2 separate regions of the Homo sapiens genome follow, and region 1 is linked to region 2. The links are contacts of gene promoters, found by promoter capture Hi-C in human tissues and cell types (Jung and others, 2019). All regions are on one chromosome and are shown on one strand. Each heading gives the region's core, a stretch centred on a gene start or on the middle of the fragment in contact. The rest is flanking DNA. Distances are from core to core; before and after follow the strand shown. Region 1 overlaps ESRP1 (epithelial splicing regulatory protein 1). Region 2 holds the start of ESRP1 (epithelial splicing regulatory protein 1).

Region 1 (3,266 bases), core at 399-2,898, 37 kb after region 2:
GCCCAAAACATTGCAGCCCAATCTATTTGGTTATCGAAAATTTCTACCTTTGTTTTGAAGCTGAACAGACTTACACCTACTATGTGTGTGTGTTTATGCATGTGTGGTTTTTTTTTGTTTTGTTTTGTTTTGAGACGGAGTCTTGCTTTTCTGCCAGGCTGGCATGCAGTGGCTCAGTCTTGGCTCGCTGCAACCTCTGACTCCCAGGTTGAAGTGATTCTCCTGCCTCAACCTCCTGAGTAGCTGGGACTACAGGAGTGTGCCACCATGCCCAGCTAATTTTTTGTATTTTAGTAGAGATGGGGTCTCACCATGTTGGCCAGGATGGTCTGGATCTCCTGCCCTTGTGATCTGCCCGCTTCGGCCTCCCAAAGTGCTGAGATTACAGGCGTGAGCCACCACACCCAGCCATGTGTGTTTGTCTTATTGGTGTGAGGCACTGTCCTGTAATGAACCGCTTGATAGTTTTGAAATCAGAATATGAACCGGGCGCGGTGGCTTACGCCTGTAATCCCAGCACTTTGGGAGGCCAAGGCGGGCAGATCACCCGAAGTCAGGAGTTCGAGACCAGCCTGACCAACATGGCGAAACCCTGTTTCTACTAAAAAAAAATTCAAGAAATCAGAATATGAGCACAGGCTGTATAACTTTCTGTGAGACTTAGGTGCCTCAATTTGTATTGTTGGTCTTTTGCACAGTTTTTGATGAGTATGAAAGAGGCACTCAAGTTAAATATGAGATCAATATGTTAGTCTTTTTTCTATACGCCCATATTTAGCTTGCTGTCTTATTCATCTCCATGGAAATGTAGAAACTCATAAGAACAAAAGACAATTTGAAGTCAGCTTGGAGATTTTTATGGGAAAAAGTTATTTCTTGGGCCTCTGCTGATTGCAAAATGTGGTGGTTCTAGGTATGAAGCTTAAAGTCAGGGACCCCATATTCATTCAGCATCTCAACTTAACTCTTCTATTGGGTATAAATGGCCCGGATAGTTGTGTTCATTCCACAAGTGAAAGCTAGTGACCAGCCACTGGTCTTCTGTTTCTAAACCTAGAAGATGTTTGATAACCAGAAGACAATGCAGTTGGGGCCCATTTTTTAATTTAATCTGAGCCAGCTTTTTATTAGTTGATTCCCAGGAAGACTTAGGCATCAATTCCTTTGGGACTATTTCCCAGGTTGGATTTTTTTCTTTTTAAAGGTCTGAAGATATAAATTAGCTTCAAAGCCCATCATGTGGCTAGCCTTTAGGTGAGAATAATGCAGAATTGATCTGCTTGTTTCTTTTAGGTCAGTTCCTTCTGGCACAGTCTATGCTTTGACCTAATATGTGGTAGTGGCCAAGAGAGGTTTATCATAACACTTCTCATTTGATGCTGTACTGACGGGTAGGTAGCAAGAGGGAGTAGAAGCATAACTTAAAATTTAAAATATTTAGTAGCCTCTAGTATGAAACTTAAACATCAGTTCCTTGTTTCTTTCCTCTGAGAGTTGGTTTGTAGTAACTGGCACTCAGGAACATGAGGGAAAAAAATTACATATTGTGAAATGGTTGAGAAGACATGAAAATCCACTTGATTTTGGTGTTTCCGAATTTCAGGCAAAGAACTGTTTTTTAGGTTGACAGGGTGGAATTCAGATACTTCTATGCATTAACTGTATAATCAAAAGGAAATTGCTTGGGATAGGATAAAGAACTGTGGTCTCTTTCTTTAAAATGTGTAGATGGAACAGTGACTATGTTTTTAGTGCTAGCACGTGCATGTCAGCTGTTACAAATATGTCTCAAAGAATCTCTCTTTGCATATCTAGGCCTGTCTCCTCCCTCCTACACATTTCCAGCTCCTGCTGCAGTTATTCCTACAGAAGCTGCCATTTACCAGCCCTCTGTGATTTTGAATCCACGAGCACTGCAGCCCTCCACAGCGTACTACCCAGCAGGCACTCAGCTCTTCATGAATTACACAGCGTACTATCCCAGGTAAGGCTCTGACAGAGGTGGAAATGAGGGGCAGAAACAAAGGACTCCTTTGATAGCCAGTGCAAGAGCTCACAAAAGAATATTGTCTGCCATGTTGAAGGTTAGCGTGGCAGGCCACAGCCTCTGGTCATATCTCTGACCAAGAAGGTTGTTTCAAGACAAAGCAAAAGCAGTATAGTTTTTAACCATATACTGACAGCATGATCTTTTAGGTCACCTATGTCTACAGCTTTCCTTTTTTACCTCTCCTGTCATAGGACCCCAAGTGAGTAGTGATGTGATCACTGCAATAGGATGGCAATATCAGATGAATGAATCATAAAACAGGAAAATTCATAACAGGAACAATGCTATTTTGAAGTAGTATGAGTTCATGTTATGGCACAGTGAATAAAAACTGTTGCTTTAAATATTCCAGGGCTTATATTCTTTTCCTCCTAAATCTTTAAACAAATCTATAAACCAATCCAGAATTAGATTATTTAGTGTTTTCTTAGAGTCTATATATTTTAAGTCTGTCTTTTTAGTTGTGTTCAATTTCTCGGACATAGCATACTAGCATATAATGGAGAGAATGTTGTCAGTCTGGGAGTTGGGAGACTGAATGTTAGTTTCTTTCCAAGCTATTTAGAAGAAATATTTGGAGTACATGCACGAGCATGTAAATGAGGCTTATAATAAGTGTCTTGGACCTAACCTGTCTGATCCTACAGCTATGTTGCATTGTATTTTTCTTCCCTGTCCAATACAGAATTTTCCACTAAGGAGTAAGAGTTAGGGGTCTCATAATAACAGGCAAGTTTGTAGCCACTTTTAATTATGTTTTTTATTTTGTTAGAAGTTTTTAAAACATTAATGCTATTGAAAATATTTTTTATTCCACTGGAGAAGAAAAATAAGAAAAAGGCTATGACAGTTGTCAGCTAGCTGTCTTCTGAAGGTTTGAAAAGGCTAAGAAGCATGAGTAACTGTTCATGATGGAATACTGTGCCAGACACGTAGCCCAGCCCCAATCTGCCACCCTCTCTGGACCCTGTGATAATTGCTTATGTCATCAGAATGTCAGGAATGGAATCCTTGGTGTCTCTGAATGTCTGCCAGTGTTCTTGTTCCTACAGTGTAATTGTAGAATATCCACTTCCATCACTACTTGCCACCTGAGTAGTGGTACAGGAAGGAGTTTCTTGGAAATGAGACCATGAATCTTGAAGCCCCAAAGGCAGAAGGAACTGACATTTATGGCTTAATAGCTCCTGTAATGTTGGATGTGGGCCTGTAGGTC
Region 2 (3,284 bases), core at 764-3,263:
ACTGCAATGCAATCTGGGTGGTTTTTCCAGGTCCCTCCCTGCCTCGTTCCGCGCCCAGTCCCTGCCCCCGCGACGCCCGAGGGCCTGGACGGGTAGCTCGGAGTTACCGGGGCTGGGGAGGAGCGAGGCTACTGCAGTAAGCCAGCCGGAACCCATTTATGACTCCGCACTCTGAAGTTCAGGACAGGGAAGCACCCACCTCTGGAACTCAAGCAGTGGACGAGGGAGGTCCCGAGCGCCGTCGCAGCGCTGCGAGTGTGGGACCCTGGCCTTCGCCCGCTCTCAGGGGACGAGAGCTGCCACCTGTATCACGGGAGGCCCCGCCTCCGCCTGCACCTTCTCCTACCAGGAAACGAGACGGCGCGGGCCTCGGGCTCCTCTCCCCCCTCCCGGGAGCTGAACCCCCACTGGGAAAGCCAGGTCTCCAGCTTCCCTTGACACGCGTCTTGAAAGGTTACCGGATTTGTACCCGGAGTGGGTTCTGCAGGGATAGGTGCATGGTTGCCCGTTTCACATCATGAATATGAACGGGGCTGGACACCTAGAGCCGAATTATTAATACTTCAGACAGAATTCTGTTCCCAAGAACAAATCGCTTTGAGATATAAAACCCGAGAAAACTTCACCTCTGGCGCTTTTCTCTCTAAAATGTCAACAAGACCCAACAACATACTGCCACCGATCTGGTGGCTGGGGGGTGATGGTTGGGGTACGAGCCTCTGGGCAGACCAAGCTGAGGTGGAGCAGGGAGGTTGTTTGGGAGCTTGGTCAAGTCAACACACTCCAATACAATGCCAAAAGCATGAGCAGAGGGAATGGGGTCAGGGCGCAGAACCTGGGAAAAAGCCTGCGTGGCCCGATTTAAGAAAATTTTTATTAGGCATGCGGATAGATGCTTTTCATTTGGGGCCCAAGGCAAATAAAAGGAAATGGGCCCCAGCTCTGGAGGATGTTCCAGCTTCGAACTAGCAGCCAGGACCAAACCAGACATAGCATTCAGAGTTGACAGAAAAAGAAGCGGGCTCCATTGTGCCTGAGTTTCCTTGCGGGGTCCCCCAGCTGCTTTGCGCGCGATAACTGCGTCCTGGGGAGTGACTAGGTGGTTGGGCGTCCAGCCCCTGGCGTCCGGCTCTGCCGCGCGCGGGGTTCCTCTCCGGAAGGTGGGCAGCGCGGCGGGTTTGGGACGAGCGTGCACCCGGGCTCCGGCCCGGAGAAGGGGGGGCTCGCAGGATTTCTCCTGCTGTTTGCACTGAAAGTTGTGTTGGCTCAGGAGCTGCTTTTCCGGGGATCTGCAGTTGCCCCCGCCACCTCCTGGCTGCGGTTGGCAGGTCCCTCCCTCAGCAGTTCGTCCTCCGCCTGCGCCGCGCCCTGGGCAGCTCCGCGCCCCGGGCCTCACCTCTGGCCTCCTTTCGCCTCCCTGCACCTGGCCTTTTCGCTTGACCGTTCAGAACCTTCGGCTTCGTTCCCTGCAGCCGGTATTCTCCGAGCCCCCCTGCACCTCTCAGTTACCTCCAGTGGGAACCCCTCCCCCCAGCGACTCCGAGCCCTTTACCTCTCTGAGCCCTTTCCCCGTCTGGCCTCGTCTACCCTCTGGGTGTCAACCGCCTCTTCCCTGCCCCTCACGTCTCCCCCTCCTCCTCCCCTGCCCTCGCCTCTCCATTCATCCAGCCATTGTCTCCCGCCCCTTCCTCCCCCTCCCGAAGCGGCCTCCTCCCCCACCGCTGCCACGTCGTGGTTTGAAGGAGCCAATGGGCCGGCGCCGCCAGGTGTCTCTTACCTGCACCACGTGGGGGAGGGGGAAGGGGCGGGCAGGTAAAGCCACATCCCAAAACAGAAAAGCTTTCAGCCATTGCGTGCCTCCCGGGGGGGGCAGCCTTGCTCCAGGCTTTTTGCATAGACGCCCGGGCAACTGAATACAAAAAGGGCAGGCCTCCTGCGCCCTCCTTCCCACCCCCCTTCCTGCCCTGGGCGTGGAGCACCGACCAGGTGTGGGCTTGGGTGGTTGGTTACCGCCTTTTGCACTAGCAGTAGCAAGGAAGGGGGGTGGGCGCTCTTTCTTTTTCTCTTAGAAGAGGGTTTAGCACAGGTTTTTTCGTTCTCACTTCCACACCACCTTACCGCCTCCCGACCCCCCCTCTCCCCCTCCCCACCTATCGTCATGACGGCCTCTCCGGATTACTTGGTGGTGCTTTTTGGGATCACTGCTGGGGCCACCGGGGCCAAGCTAGGCTCGGATGAGAAGGAGTTGATCCTGCTGTTCTGGAAAGTCGTGGATCTGGCCAACAAGAAGGTATTTCTCCACATTTTCGTCTAAATGCAAGGAATGGGGCAAGAAGTTTGTGGTAGAGGTTTGGGCGGGGAGGGGGGTGGAGGTAAGTAAATAAGTGCTCTTGTTTGCCCACTTGTGAGTCTGGACCCGAGGCCTAGGGAAGCTAGAGTAAAACCAAACTTATTGGCCAACTGCCTTGGAGCCATTTCAGTCCTCCGCAACTTAGCTCAGGTGGAGAGGCCGGCGCTACCGAGCCGGGTTCTTTGCCCGTCGGGGGACGCTCCGCCGAGACGAGGTGGGGTCTCGGAGGCCCCGGGGTCCACTTCCAGGGCTTTTCCGACCTATCGGGTGGGGGGTGGGGCGGGGGGCAGGAACGCACCGGAACCGATGGCGAGTCGAGAGCTTTGATTCTGCGTCCGGACCCCAAGAGAGGCGCGGGCCGCCCCAGCAGGGGAGCGAGGGAGGAGGGTGCAGAAAGAGGCTCCGAAATTGGGGGAAACTGACCCGTGCTTCTCTACCTTCGGAGGTGGGACAGTTGCACGAAGTGCTAGTTAGACCGGATCAGTTGGAACTGACGGAGGACTGCAAAGAAGAAACTAAAATAGACGTCGAAAGCCTGTCCTCGGCGTCGCAGCTGGACCAAGCCCTCCGACAGGTGACAACCCCGGGTCACGCCACCCACCCCAGCCTGGGCCCAACCCCACCGCACCCTACGCCCTCTCAGGGCGGCCCACGCGTGTTCCCGGAGCAGGGTGGCGAGACGCCTGCCCGGCCGCGTGGGTGGGAGCCCAGCCTGAGGGCCGGGGCGCACCGTTTGGGCGGGGGTCGCTGCTTCTCTTCATCTCCCAGCCCCCAGGGTTTGGGACCGACATTCACTAGTTTTCGAGTTGCTTCCTGAGTAGTTACTGGAGCCGGAGAGTCAGCTCCATTTTGCCAATTGATTGACGTGCGGAGTTTGAATCCTAGCGCCCCCATCTCCAGGTCCAGACCCCAGACGCGCCGCTCCCCTGCGGGG

The links. Contacts are between HindIII fragments. The study calls those that stand out against the background at their distance.
Region 1: a contact is called between a fragment that was not itself captured here and the fragment with the promoter of ESRP1 in region 2, in 3 of the 25 tissues and cell types used here (H1 embryonic stem cells, mesendoderm cells and thymus).

The regions. Positions count from the first base shown.
Region 1 is chr8:94,676,388-94,679,653 of GRCh38, forward strand. It overlaps ESRP1 (epithelial splicing regulatory protein 1), which reads left to right. Exons shown (of 16, transcript NM_017697.4): 13 at 1,816-1,984. Among named protein-coding and RNA genes, the nearest start is that of ESRP1, 37 kb to the left of the region's middle. The HindIII fragment of the contact is 4,001 bases long and covers 1-3,266 here.
Region 2 is chr8:94,639,161-94,642,444 of GRCh38, forward strand. ESRP1 (epithelial splicing regulatory protein 1) reads left to right here and starts at 2,014. Exons shown (of 16, transcript NM_017697.4): 1 at 2,014-2,290; 2 at 2,796-2,924. The coding sequence starts at 2,159. It overlaps LINC02894 (long intergenic non-protein coding RNA 2894), which reads right to left and starts at 307. Exons shown (of 1, transcript NR_034034.1): 1 at 1-307. The HindIII fragment of the contact is 5,400 bases long and covers 696-3,284 here.